Regions from separate parts of the Homo sapiens genome. Here all the other regions are linked to region 3. Evidence: promoter capture Hi-C in 16 types of primary human blood cells and fetal thymus (Javierre and others, 2016). All regions are on one chromosome and are shown on one strand. The core of a region is centred on a gene start or on the middle of the fragment in contact, and the rest is flanking DNA. Distances in the headings are between cores, read along the strand shown.

Evidence for each region. The method cuts DNA at HindIII sites, captures the fragments that hold promoters and counts their contacts. A CHiCAGO score of 5 or more calls a contact.
Region 1: the fragment with the promoter of LALBA here is called in contact with the fragment with the promoter of ZNF641 in region 3 in 16 of 17 cell types (total CD4 T cells, activated CD4 T cells, endothelial precursors and 13 more); the score reaches 14.4 in total CD4 T cells.
Region 2: the fragment with the promoter of SENP1 here is called in contact with the fragment with the promoter of ZNF641 in region 3 in 14 of 17 cell types (neutrophils, naive CD8 T cells, non-activated CD4 T cells and 11 more); the score reaches 14.7 in neutrophils.

Annotation. Positions count from the first base shown.
Region 1 is chr12:48,568,674-48,573,838 of GRCh38, reverse strand. It overlaps LALBA (lactalbumin alpha), which reads left to right and starts at 3,793. Exons shown (of 4, transcript NM_002289.3): 1 at 3,793-3,951; 2 at 4,599-4,757. The coding sequence starts at 3,819. The HindIII fragment of the contact is 2,055 bases long and covers 2,644-4,698 here.
Region 2 is chr12:48,103,461-48,108,461 of GRCh38, reverse strand. It overlaps SENP1 (SUMO specific peptidase 1), which reads left to right and starts at 2,383. Exons shown (of 18, transcript NM_001267594.2): 1 at 2,383-2,434. It also overlaps a transcript of PFKM not described here. RefSeq lists enhancers at 1,637-2,510, 2,796-3,005, 2,511-3,386 and a silencer at 2,516-2,655. The HindIII fragment of the contact is 3,654 bases long and covers 1,646-5,001 here.
Region 3 is chr12:48,348,082-48,352,911 of GRCh38, reverse strand. ZNF641 (zinc finger protein 641) reads left to right here and starts at 1,993. Exons shown (of 6, transcript NM_001172681.2): 1 at 1,993-2,126; 2 at 4,797-4,830. The coding sequence starts at 4,822. RefSeq lists silencers at 1,483-1,562, 1,843-2,272 and enhancers at 1,238-1,974, 2,413-2,482. The HindIII fragment of the contact is 6,093 bases long and covers 1-4,627 here.

The DNA of each region.
Region 1 (5,165 bases), core at 2,544-5,043, 220 kb before region 3:
AAGAAAAATGCCAATAAAAAATCACTCCCTTTCTAAATCTTAATTACTTTAATTAACTCTTTAATTTGGTTAAACATTTTCATGAAATTTGGGTTTCAAGATCTAGCATCATTGTCTACCTAGTGATAATTTTCCTGAATTATGAGAGAAAGTAGAACAAGATGAGGATATAAGTGTATTTTAAAATAGAGACAGGGTCTTGCTCTATTGCCCAGGCTAGAGTGAGTGGCACAATCAAAGCCCACTGCATTCTTGAACTCCTGGGCTCAAGCAATCCTCGTACCTCAGTAGCTAGGACTATAGGCACGTGCCACTATGCCTGGCTAATTTTTATTTTTTTTTGTAGTGACAGAGTCTTGCTATGTTGCCCAGGCTGGTCTCCAACTCCTGGCCTCAAGTGATCCTCCTGCCTCAGCCTCCCAAAATGTTGGGAGTATAGGCATGAGCCACTGCAGGCACAAGGTAAGGATATTAACTGCAAGATGTAATGGCCATTATGACTGTGGCTCTCAGGGTGTTCCCTCTAAATGGCAGGCCTAGGCTCTGTCTAGAAACTCCAGCTCACCTACAGACTACAGTTTCAGATGGAAAACGTGCCTTGAAACACATGCTTTCAATTTCTTTATTTTCAGAAATAAAGATATTTTAATTTTATTTTTATTATTATTATTATTTTTTGAGATGGAGTCTTGCTCTGTTTCCCAGGCTGGAGTGCAGTGGCACAATCTTGGCTCACTGCAGCCTTCACCTCCTGGGTTCAAGCGATCCTCCTGCCTCAGCTGCCCGAGTAGCTGGGATTATAGACTCCTGCCAGCATGCTCAGCTAATTTTTGTATTTTTAGTAGAGACGGAATTTTGCCATGTTGGTCAGGCTGGTCTCGAACTCCTGACCTCAAATAATCTGCCTACCTTGGCTTCTCAAAGTGCTGGGATTACAGGCATGACCCACCATGCCCGGCCTGAACTTTTTATTTTATAAATAAAGAAATTTACTTTTAGAAATAAAATTTTTATTTTGTTCATCTTCAAAAAGGTGATTTCTGGTTTTAGAAACCTGGATATTTCCCCACAGCATCTGAGAGAATGAACATAATTTTCTAGTCTATTTCTAACAAAATCTAGGTAAGTGTATTGTAAATGCCTCTTCACCATCTTGATTCAGCTCTCGACCTCCATGCAGAGCACCCTGAGTAAACCTCTCTGGAAAGGGAGATTTTGGAGGAGGTTTCTTCCTGGACAGGAATTGTTGAGCAGGAGCTTTCTTCCACGAGCTGTGCTTAATGTCTTTCCACATACTTCCTCTTTCAGTGCTGCGATCATTGTGTATTGTTCTCCTTTGGACAATCTCCAAGAGGCTGCATCTTTCTCTGGATGTTTGCAGTTGTTCCCATTAGACACTTTCTATCTTCTTTTTCAGATGACCCCCACGTATCCTATTTTAAGAACATTTATAGGGAAATAATGGTTCCTTTTGCCGGAGACATGTTTATTTTCTTTTCTGCACTTAGTTGTGATTCCTGACCTGTATGCTTATTTTTATTGCTTATAGGGAAGGGCCAAGGTATAATCAAATGATAGGCAAGCAGGCAGCTGCCTTAGGTCTTGACTTGGCTGAAAGTGTAGAAAACCCCTGTGATTCTTGAGACCCTGGCCCACCCTTTTACTCTATCACAGGTACTTAGTCAATAGCCTAGGGCAGGAGGCATTTTACACAAGACTCCACTATTGGAAGGACTAGTCCTCAGGACTAGCTTTTCTTATCTTTCCCTCTCACACATGGTTCAAGGTCACTCTCAGCCATATTCTCAACAAAGCTTAGAGTGATAGAATTCCCATTCCTGTCGTGTACCCTTGCAGTGCCTCTGGGTGGAATGCGGAGAAATGGAGTGGCTCCACTTCTGTTGTGTTTCTGAACATGTATCTCTTGCTATCAGAACTTTCTGCTCATCCCTTCTGGCACACCAAGATCCTCCACATTCCCTTCACTCATGCCACTTCATATACTGGTTATCCATGGTACAGAAGACAGGATTTAACTGAGAGGACTTTTCCCTGACTCTGAATACATGTAGGAGATAACGATATGGAAGACCTTCAGTATGTAAGTCTTAAATAGATTGGTTGGGATAAATGTTCCCTGAAACATAAGAAACAGCGCAGCGGCTCCTGTCTGTAATCCTAGCACTTTGGGAGGCCGAGGCCCAGGCAGGCAAATTGCCTGAGCTCAGAAGTTTGAGACCAGCCTGGCCAACATGCAGAAACTCCGTCTCTACTAAAAATACATAAATTAACCGGGCATGGTAACACGTGCCTGTAGTCCCAGCTACTCGGGAGGCTGAGGCAGGAGAATCACTTGAGCCTGGGAGGCAGAGGTTGCAGTGAGCCAAGATCGCGCCACTGCATTCCAGCCTGGGCAACAGAGTGAGACTTGGTCAAAAAAAAAAAAAAAAAAGGAAGAAGAAGAAGAAATCAGGTTTAGAGATGAGGACAAAGAAGACGAATGGTGGCATGAAGGAGCTAAGAGCTACTTGTCACCATGACATGAAGCTTCATGCCAGCAAATTAAAGGAGCTATTCAGAACTAGTATCCTCAACTCTACTTGCTCAGGGGCACTGACCTTATAGAGATTCCAGACATAAGCTTGTTCAGCCTTAAAGTCCAATCTTTCCACTGGCTTGGGTCCTTCCCACTTTCTGTGGCCAACTCTGAGGTTGTCTACAAGTTATTGGTCTTAGATTTATGTAATGTCTCAATGCCAGTGTAGTATTTGGTTATTTACGGTAGGAGTGGTTAGGGGTGGGGAATCTGATAATAGCTCGTAGGATAGCTAGATTCTTTTTTTTTTTTTTTTTTTTTAAAGATAGGGTCTCACTTTGTCTCCCAGGATGGATGGAGTGCAGTGGAGTGAACATGGCTCACTGCAGCCTCGACCTCCTGTGCTCAAGTGTTCCTCCTGCCTCAGCCCCTCAAGTAGCTGGGACTACAGGCACATGTCACCATGCCCAGCTAATTTTTTTTGTAGAGATGGGATTTTACCATGTTGCCCAGGCTGGTCTCGAGCTCCTGGGCTCAAGTGATCCACCAGACTCGGCCTCCCAAAATGCCGGGATTACAGGTGTGAGCCACTGTGCCTGGCCTAGATGCTTTCATACAGGCTTTTCAATTATGCATTTTCCTTAAGTAGGAAGTCTTAAGATCCAAGTTATATCGGATTGTTGTAGTCTACGTTCCCATATTCTATTCCTATTTCTGAGCCTTCAGTCATGAGCTACCATATTAAAGAACTAATTCTGGGCCTTGTTACATGGCTGGATTGGTTGGACAAGTGCCAGCTCTGATCCTGGGACTGTGGCATGTGATGACATACACCCCCTCTCCACATTCTGCATGTCTCTAGGGGGGAAGGGGGAAGCTCGGTATAGAACTTTATTGTATTTTCTGATTGCCTCACTTCTTATATTGCCCCCATGCCCTTCTTTGTTCCTCAAGTAACCAGAGACAGTGCTTCCCAGAACCAACCCTACAAGAAACAAAGGGCTAAACAAAGCCAAATGGGAAGCAGGATCATGGTTTGAACTCTTTCTGGCCAGAGAACAATACCTGCTATGGACTAGATACTGGGAGAGGGAAAGGAAAAGTAGGGTGAATTATGGAAGGAAGCTGGCAGGCTCAGCGTTTCTGTCTTGGCATGACCAGTCTCTCTTCATTCTCTTCCTAGATGTAGGGCTTGGTACCAGAGCCCCTGAGGCTTTCTGCATGAATATAAATAAATGAAACTGAGTGATGCTTCCATTTCAGGTTCTTGGGGGTAGCCAAAATGAGGTTCTTTGTCCCTCTGTTCCTGGTGGGCATCCTGTTCCCTGCCATCCTGGCCAAGCAATTCACAAAATGTGAGCTGTCCCAGCTGCTGAAAGACATAGATGGTTATGGAGGCATCGCTTTGCCTGAATGTGAGTTCCCTGCCTCTGTGTTTCATCCATTCCTCATACGCTTCTCTCCTCCATCCCCTCTTTCTTCCACTTCGCCCCTCCACTTTTACTTAATTATCTAATCATCCTCTTTTCTGCTCATTTGCATACTCTTTTATTTCATGTATGTATATATGTATGTATTTATTTATTTTTGAGGTGGAGTTTCGCTCTTGTTGCCCAGACTGGAGTGCAATGGTGTAATCTCGGCTCACTGCAACCTCCGCCTCCTCGGTTCAAGTGATTCTCCTGCCTCAGCCTCCCAAGTAGCTGGAATTACAGGCACCCACCACCATGCCTGGCTAATTTTGTATTTTTTGTAGAGACAGGGTTTCACCATGTTGGCCAGGCTGGTCTCAAACTTCTGACCTCAGGTGATCCGCCCTCCTCAGCCTCCCAAAGTGTTGGGATTACAAGCGTGAGCCATCATGCCTGGCCCCATTTATTTTCCTATCCTTTCTTTCTCTTATTGTCTGATTTTTTTTTGGAATTCTCCATCTCATCAAGAAACTCTGAGCTTTGCCATCTTTGGAGATTGGCTGGAAAGCATTTTTGTCTGAGAATTACAGTTCCTCCTTTATGCAGATCCTGTACATCTCTGTGGTATCTCTTTCTCATCTTTCCCTCAGTGATCTGTACCATGTTTCACACCAGTGGTTATGACACACAAGCCATAGTTGAAAACAATGAAAGCACGGAATATGGACTCTTCCAGATCAGTAATAAGCTTTGGTGCAAGAGCAGCCAGGTCCCTCAGTCAAGGAACATCTGTGACATCTCCTGTGACAGTGAGTAGCCCCTATAACCCTCTTTCTCTGTTTTTCTGAGGCCTGCCCTTGGGATAATCTCCTTTTTAGTGCCAAGCAGACCTCAGGCTTCATTGCCTTGGCTGGGCTCTATAAAAATTGTGGGACTTGAATTGGCAGTACTGAGTAAGAAGCTGTTTGGATTTTTCATGGTCATCAAATCCCCAGACAGTTCCTTGAGGTTCAGTGGTAGACAATCGGAGCTGTCTGAGAGTCTTGGAATCTGATTGTCTGCATTTTCAGGGTAAGTCAGTTGATGAAGCTGATGATTCCTCCAGAGATATCCCAGGGAAATGAAGGAAGTCCCTACCCAGGGTTAGACATTACCACATTGGTCCTTTCATATAGAAAGACAACAGGCACAAGCCTTGAGTTTAGAGAACCCACTGG
Region 2 (5,001 bases), core at 1,134-3,633, 240 kb after region 3:
TTATTCTGCATAGAGATGTGTCTGTTTCCCTACAATTTCCCAGATGATCCATCCCCACCTCTCTCCCTTCTTCCTTTCCCTCCCCATCCCTCTTTCTCTTTCTCTCTCTCTTTCTCTCTCTCTCTGTTTCACACACACACAGACTTTCCCCCTTGGGTCTTATATTTCAGCTTTAGTAGGTCTACGCTGATTTATAATACTATGCATACAACTTTCACTTTCCCATATTCCTTTGAACATTTCTCACTGTTGACCCACATGCCTCACCAGTTTTGAAAACAGGTATGCTTCCCACGGTGTCTGGATCATCCATAGTATCTAGACTCTTCAAGATGTCTGTCTTTGGTGGTGGCTTTGGTATGAGCATGCTGGAAGTAGAAGCTTCCCCAGCTGAGAAACAATAGCTTTAGGTCACCCTCAAGGTGGGATTCTGGGAAGGGAGTGTTCCTTACTCCCTTTCATTTTCCCTATGACTCTGAGCTGTCCAGGGCTTTCTTTCCAAAAATCCAGTGAAAAATTAGAGACGCGATGTACCTCAAAAAGATTCTATTCCCTTGACATACATGGGGGAAAGCAGAACATATAACTAGATACTTTGAGGTGGGGTGGATGAGAAGGCCATTTTTCCTTAGGGCTTGATTTATCTGATAGTTTTGGAGTGTCAGTTATAATGACAATAAAGATTCCCACAGATGAGCCCAGACTGGTCGAAGTAATTCACATAACAACACAATAATGACAAGCTCATGGGATAAATTTTGTTCCCCCCTCAACTCTCAAGTCCTCCTTATCTGCCTGGCATCTATCACAACAAACCAGGTCAAAATCTTACCTGGAAAATACACGACTCAGTGATCAATATTTTATCAAAGTGAGAATGTGATAAACAAGGTCAGTTGACCCCTAAAATCCGTATTTACACTAGAAAGCCTCACATCCTGTATTTAGACTTCTTGTGAGAGAACCCATTCTCTGTCACTGGAGTATGATCAGGAGACAAGGGTACCTGTTCTCTGAGGAGTCCTGACTAACTGGCGAGACTGAATCACACACATGAAAAATTTCAGATGAAACTCGTCTTTATGCATGGCTGCCTCCTAGAAATAGAGACAGAGTTTAATCCAAACGAACAGAGCTGTGAAATAAGATGTCAGTGACTGACATGGACCAGCTACACTCATGACTACTTGGCCTTAGGACTTGACAATATAATATAAAAGTATCAGCACATGAGGCAATACAAATAATCTACTTTGATGTATTTGACAGGGGAGGAAACCCTGAACTCAGCAAGCTGCTGAGAGTATCAGAAAGGCTGGGGGCCTCCAGAAACTGCCCTTCTTTAAGTCTGAGCTCAGACTGTGCCTGTGGCTGTGATCTGGGTGTAAAGGACCTATTAAGGGGGCATTTCTCTAAGACTTCTACAGGGCCTGGGTCCAGAGGCCTGCCAAGCTGAGGTGCTTGACAAAAAGCCTGAATGAACAAACATATTTCTTCCCATTATGTTCTCTTAGAAAGTATGGCAGATTCCAGGTTAATCAATGTGTCCCAGGAACAACAAAGCCCTTCAAAGGTCACAGGTGATTCCTGGGTCCTTCTCTATCTCTACCCAGAAAAGCAGATCTCTAGTGGGCTCCCAAAAGCTTTCCTCACAGCTCTGCCTGTTTCAAATTCCTCCAGAGTTCTGGAAGGTTCTACATCTTGCCAGAGTCTAGCCTAATCCGTCCTCAAGTTGCTTGTTTGTTTGTTTGTTTGCTTGCTGAATGGTCAATCAAGTATGAGGTGGTGCAGAGTACAGGATTGCAAGTTAAGAAACTTGTTTCCTAGTCCTAGATGGGCCGTGCACTTAAAACCTTTGGGAAATCACTTCACTTCTCTGAACCTGGTAAGACTAAAGTATCTCCAATAACCTCTACAAGCACTAACGTTCTGTGATTCTCAATAAAACACGAGATAGCCTGAGATCGATTTAGATCTCAGGTCCCTATCTGTCGGGGGAAGCCACAGGTTTCCGCAGATTTAGGGCCACCGCGAAAAGCTGCCATGGAAACTGGAACGCAAGCAAGCAAAACTCGCCGGGCGGAACCAGAAGGCGGCGGGTAAGGGAGCAGAGGGAACAGAGAAAAGCATAGGACGAAGGGCTCACTAACAGTATTCCGAGTACGAGAAAGCGAAAAAGCCCAGACTGAAAAGGGTACTGAGAAATTACGACTAGTCTTAAATGCTCCCTTCGCTTCTCGGGCCTCGCCACACCGCGCAGGCGCCCCACTGGTCCTTAACTCTGTTCTTTGACCTCCTGCCCCAGCCCCCTCCTCTTCAGCCACCTAGCGACTCTTCCGGTGCTGTGAAGGCGGTTCCGGTTCGCGGCGGTTCCCGGGTTTTGCGTTCCGCGCCCGGCCGGAAACCCCTTCGCATGGCAGCCGGTTCCGGTTCGGTGAGTGGCGGCGGGAAGCTGGGGGAGGGGTGAGGATGGAGGGAGCCTGGTCCAGGAGACTGTGTCGGACCCGGTCAGCCGGCCCGGGCTGGACTGGGCGGAAGCGGGGAGCACTGTGGGGCCGGCGCCTTTTCCTCTGCCCCGCCCCCTGGGACCACCTCCCCTCCCCCCTGCTGTCCGGTGGCCGCGCTGTGGCCGCCGGTGGCCGTTAGGCTACCTGAGGCCGTTCCTTCTGGTCTCTCTCTCCTGGGCCGCGGAGAGACCGTCTCCCTGCCGTTACAGCAGGCCCCATCCCAGCGCCCAGCCGTACTTGGGGAAAGGCCGGTTGCGATTCCGGGGCTTTCCCGCCAGAGCTGGGTCTTCTCTGGGGAGAGCTGTTTTCACCGGGAAGCTCGGCTTTCTGTGGTACCGGCTTCATCTCCCGCCTTCCTTGAGACCCGAGTGATATTTCTTGACTACTTCTGCGTCTCACGTAAACATTTCTCCAACTCTCCTACTCTGTGGTATCTCCCTGAGATGTGATATCGCTAGTGCCACCATCAGAAAGAAACGTCTGGACCCTCCTGCTCAGGTTATGAAAATCCCCTTAACTGCCACAATTTGCTTACCTGGCTCATCGCCTCCTGGTAATTCCCTTGAACCGTCTCTTTCTTGGTGTACCCTAACGTGATCTCTGGATCTATGCCTCGTTTCTCTTTCCTTGAGCTTGGTGATTTCTGTTTATCGGTGCCTGTGCAGTATTTCCACTATCTTGTTAGCAGTAACTTGCTTCTTTATCACTTTCAAGTCAGCCTTGTTAAAGTCATTTTACTTCATATTTGGTACACTTATTATATTTGGAGTGGTGGTGATTCTTGTAATATTCATATAAAGCCTTTTATCTACTACCAACTATTTGACTGAGGGTCTTTGTTATAATTGGTTATTCTGGATGTATTAGATCTCATCATCTCCTAAATCTTTATTCTTCATAAAAATAATTTGTGTTAAGGACTCATGTTGAAATACAGATTACCCTGACTTTGAAATTACAGTTAAAGCGCAACTTTAAGCATCTCTATAAGCATGATCCCTTAACCTACTTCCAGTTTACACTCTACCACCCTTTATTTTTCCTCTCTAGTCCCTTTTAGGAAGGCTTATTCATTTTTAACTGACTTCAATTAATTATCCCAACTGCAAAGATGGTCTTCATGTCACTCATCTAATGAGTTGTCTAGAGGGAGTGGATGGGTACAAAAACAGGTTCTGCTACTTCTGGCTAAGGGAATGCAGTTGTTGACTTGCATTGCGGCTTTGGAACTCTTGTCCTTTTCTTCCCAACTTCTACATCTTCTATCAGTTGTACCAGCTCTACTGTCTTGCGGTACCTGTTTATGGATCTGGCTTTCCCTACTGGACAGTGAGCTGCTCAGTGGCAGGGACCCTTTCTTAATGCACGTAGTCGGTGCACAGTAAATGAATGTGTATGAAAGAATTTGAACACTTAGGGTTTACGGCGTTAGAGTGTTAAGGTATTTAAGGTGTTAGAGTGATTGGGAGAGATTACATGTAAAAATAGAAGGAAAGAACCTCAAACACATGACGATATAGTACAAACTATTGTACACATAATTGTTTTTCAGAACTTGGAAAAGGGTGATTTCACATGGTTGCTTTCACACCCTTCTTATATCATAAATTGTTCTAACCACATCTTGGTCCTGGATAAAGCTAACATTGCGTCTCTCTCTCTCTCTCTCTCCCTCCCTCCGCCCCCCCCCCCCCCCCCGTCTCTCTCTCTCTCTCTCTCTATATATATTTTTTTCTTCTTTTTTTAGACAGAGTCTCGCTCTGTCACCCAGGCTGGAGTGCAATGGCTTGGTCTTGTCTCACTGCAACCTCCGCCTCCCGGGTTCAAGCGATTCTCCTGCCTCAGCCTCCCGAGTAGCTGGGATTATGGGTGCCTGCCACCATACCTGGCTAATTTTTGTATTTTTCGTAGAGACAGGGTTTCACCATGTTAGCCAGGCCGGTCTTGAACTGCTGACCTCGTGATCTGCCCACCTCGGCCTCCCAAAGTTCTGGGATTACAGGTGTGAGCCACCGTGCCCAGCCTCAATATATATTTTCTAGTAACTTCCTTGCAGCCCTAGACATTGTCTTTCATAATCCCCTTTTTGCATATATGTAAGGTTATAAGTGTTTCACCGCAGTTGTCAAGACTGTGATCTTTTTTGTTCTTTCAGGTTTCCCATTATCTTGTGTTCCACTACTAACCTGACTTCATCTGAATGTCTGTAACAGCTTATGTTCTTTCAGTAAATTACATGACCAGTGTATACTAGGAAATGAATTATTAGAATCATTTTTTTTAAAAAGAAAACATTTTTACAGTTGCTTGAATTTGGTGGCATCAGAGGTTCCAGATCCAACATTTTCATGGAGAATCTTGGGGTAAAATATTCCTTCTCCCAATGTAACTGCAAGTGGCTAAAAGAATGTACCATAAGCACACTGAAGTAGCTGGATGTATTTGTAGTAAAATATAAATGTGGGGTTTTAATTATTTAAAATTATAAATCAGT
Region 3 (4,830 bases), core at 744-3,243:
AAGTGCTGGGATTACAGGCATGAGACACTGCACCTGGCTTTTTTTATTTTTTGGAAACAATCTCACACTGATTTGTTTCCCAAAACAGTCGAGGAGAGTTTGGGCTATTATAATATCTATCAGTTCTTTCCAAACATTCTTTTCAGGTAAAGTCAGGTTTACGTACTTGGTTATGTTCAATTTAACTCTGTGTGACGAGGCAATGCTGTGTCCAGCAGCGCCCATTTCCTTTTCCATGAGGCACACATTCTTTACTTCCCAGCCACCCTTCTGGGTAGGGCCATGTGACCATGCGCATGAGTTCTGGCTAAGGGAATGGGGTGAAAATGATACACACCACTTCCAGGACTGGCCCCTAATATCTCTGACAAGTTAACCACGGCCAGCCTCCCTTATCTGAGGGCCACAGATTTGACTACATTACCAAGGCCTCGGCATGGGAGAACCACCAAATGCAAGAAGCCTGGTCCTTCAATGAATTCAAGAAGTACAGACCCCACCCTCTGGCCCCAACCAACTTGTTACCACACTGTGACTTGTATGAACATAAGCCTTTATGGAGTTAAGCCCCGAGATACTGGTTTTGCTAGCCTACTCCAATTAACGCACCTTATATTTACCACCAGTGGTAGCATAAGTGAAAAGAACCCCTGGACTTAGTTCCAGGACCCGGGATAAAAATTCTGGCTCTACTACTACCCCGACATATCCCATGATCTGCTCCTAGAATATGCTCTATACTCTTCCCAACTGCGTGTCTACTGCATTTTCCTCTTTCATTAGACAGCCCTCCTGACTCTTCTCTGCCTCACGATTTCTGTCAGAGTGGGGGGCCTTCTCTGACCTCCGTCCCATACGTGGTCACTTCTCTTTGCTTCAAGTGCAGCGTACGTTCCTCTGTTTTAGAATCTACGTTTTTATTGCAAATATTTGTTGACATGTGCTTCCCCAGACTGTGAATCCTTTAACTCCCAGCATTTAGTTACAGTGTCTGGCACACGTAGAAAATAAATATGCATTAAACGAATGATTGTCACATATGACCTTAAGTGAGTCAATTATTTTTTAAGTCTACTAAATAAAATTTTTGAAAATTGTTGTAATGATGAAATAAGGAATGTGAATGTGACTTGTAGGTTATAAACAGATTCTAACAGCAATGGGTTTACTCACTGTTTGTAGGCCCTTCTCATCTTTTCTAGTCAAATCCATCTTAATGCTGCAAGGTAGCACTATCCAATAGAAATATAATGCAAGCCATATTTATAGCCACATTTAAAAAGTTAAAACCAGGTGAAATTAATTTTAATATATTTAACCCAATATACCCAAAATATCACTTTTTAAATTAAATCTTCTAAATCTTGGAACACATCTCTATTCAGACCAGCCACATTTCGAGAGCTCAGGTGTCACCTGCGGCTACGGCTCCCGCAAATGGGACAGCAGCCGCAAGGCCAACTTCAGATAGCAACCTGACTTCCCCTCAGGCAGAATAAGTGACTCCTCCTCAGTGCTCTCTCAAGCCCTTTATCCTATCGTGAAAACTAGAGGGTACGCTCCTTGAGGAATTCCAGACTGTTGTCTGGAGAAATCGCTCTCGGCCTCGGTCTGGCCTGTAACGGGCGGTTACGCAATTCCAGGTAATTGACGAACCCTGAGGACAGAACTCCGTGGGAGGCCCAGTAGCCAGAGCGGAAAATGGTCAGTCAGGCAAGAGTGCGGGCAAGTGGCCACAGCAGGCTGCGATTCCGGCGCCCGCCGCCCTCCAAGCGTCTCGGGCCGCACCCTCCCCACAGCGGCGGGCGCGGAGGTCCCGGGTTCGCGTTTGGGGGCGCCTGAGCCGCAGCCCCGCCCCCTCCCGTCCCTCCCTCCCTCCCTCCCTCCCACTCCTCTCCCTCCCACTCCTCTCCCTCCCACTCCCCGCACCTCCGCCGCCGCAGAGCCCCGGAAGCGGGCGGGGATTTCCTGTGCCCGCCCCGCCCCGCCCGCGCCTGCCGGGCCGCCGTCTCCGCCTGTCGCTGGCTCCGCCGGCCGCCGGCTCCCAGACGCAAGCGGAGGGCGGAGGGGAGGGGCAGGCGGCGCCCGGGAGGGAGGCACCGGGCCGCGGGCCAAGCCTACCGGGGGTGAGTGGAGCCGGGCCGGAGGGAGCTGCGGCTGGAGGGAGGGACGCCTGGCTTCCCGGGGCGGCTGGTGGGGGCTCGGTCACCCATAGGGGCTGGGAGGAGGATCGGCGCGTCTTCCGGGTTGCTGCCTTTCCCGGGGGTCTGCCCCGCTGACATTCTGTGCCCGCCTCTCGCCCTGTCTCCCCGTGCCCATCGCAACTGTCAGGCCCTGCGGGCTCCCGCCGCTGTCACTCGCGCACAGGTTACCCCGTGGCTCCCTTTCTCTTCACTTGCTCATGCCCCAGCTCATGGGAAACCTGTTTTCTGACCTCACTTCCCCTGCTCCAGTTCTGCCTTGCTCGGATTCTCTGAAATCTGACCCTTTCCAGGGGCACTGTGACAAGAAGAAGGGAAGAAGCAACCTTACCCCTGAGCAGGCTCCCGTCCCGCCCATGCCCTACCCGTGGCAGGGGCCAGGGTTCTCTGATGGACGGAGCCAACTCGTCCGTGTGCCCTTGGGCTACTCATTTTTATAACATGGCCCCTTTTCTGTTCATCAGCACTGGCTGCAGAAACTTCCTTTTGCAGGTCCCTTGCTACCCATATGTGTGAAGAAAAGGGGGAAATGAAAGCCCTAGAACCCACACTGCAGTGGGCATGGGATCATCCTGGAACCAGGAGAAACGAGGTTAGGGCTACCACCTTAACCGCCCAGGTGCTGGCTCTGCGTGAATATCTTAGGAAATGCAAGCTGAGGACAGGTACCCATCCCATCCTTTGCTGAGATTTTTGCTAGCACTTCCACGGATTTCTGTCAGTGGTATAGAAAAACTTACAGCTGGCCCAATGGGCTCTGCACAAAGAGGCTTCCCATTAAGAGACTCTGCTACCTGGGGGAGATGGAGAAAGGGTTTGAGACAAGTGTCCAGATATGTAGCTAGAGGTAAAGCCTTCAGGGAGGATTTGCACAGGAGCTAGAGAACCAGAAAGATGGGACGAAGAGGGAGAATTAGTGCCCTGTGTGTTAAAAGTGGATACAGAGCTGGAATTCAGAGAAGAGAGCTAAAATGGAAGTTTCCCTTTATTGCTTTAGCAAGAATTTTCCTTTCTCATGAAAAGTCTCTGAAAAGGAAACCTCCTAGGCTGGGAATCAGTCCAGGGTGCTCCCATGAGGCCCTGAGCCATCTTTGGACTTCTGAGATAAAAAGGGAATTTGTTTTTCCTGTGCATTGGGCTTAGGGTTCCCACCTACCTCTTTTGTCAAAGACAAATAGGCAAGAAAATAGACGACTTGACATCTGTGATTACCTACCCTGGCCTTCAAGGTTCTTGCAAGTGTTATTGAAAGGATGTAAGTAAGCCAGGATAGTTACCAAGTTTCTGACTGCTCTTGGAAGCCTTTCACTGACTCTGACTGTTTGGATATTGAATAAGAATACCCAAAATATGTTGCCAAACAGAAAGAGATTCTGAGTCTCAGATTATTTCTCTGCCATAAAGCCCTATCACAACAGAAGTGTGACCCATCCTGCTCTTAAGTTGTCTAAAGAAAAAGAAGAGCCCACTATCTGGTATTGTACACTGCAGGATTATTAAGAATTAAAAAAAAATAACCTAAATCTCTTCTCTTGCAATCAAGACCCATTTTTTTCTGTTTGACCTATATAGAGATAGAAGGGACCTCTGTTTTTATTCATTAGTAGCATCATTCATCAGCCTTCTTCTCCAGACAGAGAAAACTACATCCGACATTTTTAACTTTCCCAGTGGCTGTATTTCCAATCCCTTTCTTGACTTTGATGTTTTCTGATGAACACACACTGGCTTCACCATACGCTTCTTTCAAACTGAATATATTTTTCTAATGAGATCTGACTGGTGCCTGACAAATAAACAGGTTTGTTCTTCTGGGTCATGTTAGCAGCAGTTCTTCCCCCCTTTTCCAGCTCTGGTTCAAACTCTTTCTGTTCCTTTTTACTTTTCCTGATTAAACTTCAGCTCCTCACAGACCAACAATTTCTCTTACCTCTTAGGATTACTTTGGAGTCTTAACACCTGCTTTCCAAGTTATCAGTTTTTCTACCATATTTACTACCAGTTTTCATTGGATGGTAGACCAAGTGCCTTTTTATTGAGGCTTGTCCCAAGTGAGGTACCTTTTGGCCCAGCCTCATGATACAAATACGCCCCTTGGTTGGGACTTTTACCTATAGTAATCATTTCATTCTAAACTGATGAGACTGTGATTTGTGGCAGAAAATCTTCTGTGTGATTACATCCATCTTGTTGAGTGCAGGTCTATATGTATTTCTTCCTGTATGTTTCCAAATTGCTTACTTTCCTGTACTTCATGTGCTTGAAATTAAATGGATAGCCTTTGAATTTCCAGGACAGTTCTTTTTTTTTAAATGAACTTCTTCTAACCTTCAGGTATATTCTGTTTCTATAATGAGGTCCACAAAATACCAGTTAGTGGCTTTGCTACGTAGCACCTGCCAATTTCTTAGTTCCTCCAAGAAGCTTGGTGCAGGCTCCGTTGATCGGAACACATCAAGCTTTTAAAGTTCATCTTCCAGCAAGCTCCTCCTATCTAGTTTTGTCTATTATCCCTGGGCCTGTTCTTCATAACTCCCTTAGAAATATCACTCCTTTCCCATTTTCATGGGCATTGCTGATATGAATTTGTTCCAGGTCACAATTTGGGTCTGCAGCAGAAATGCTTTCA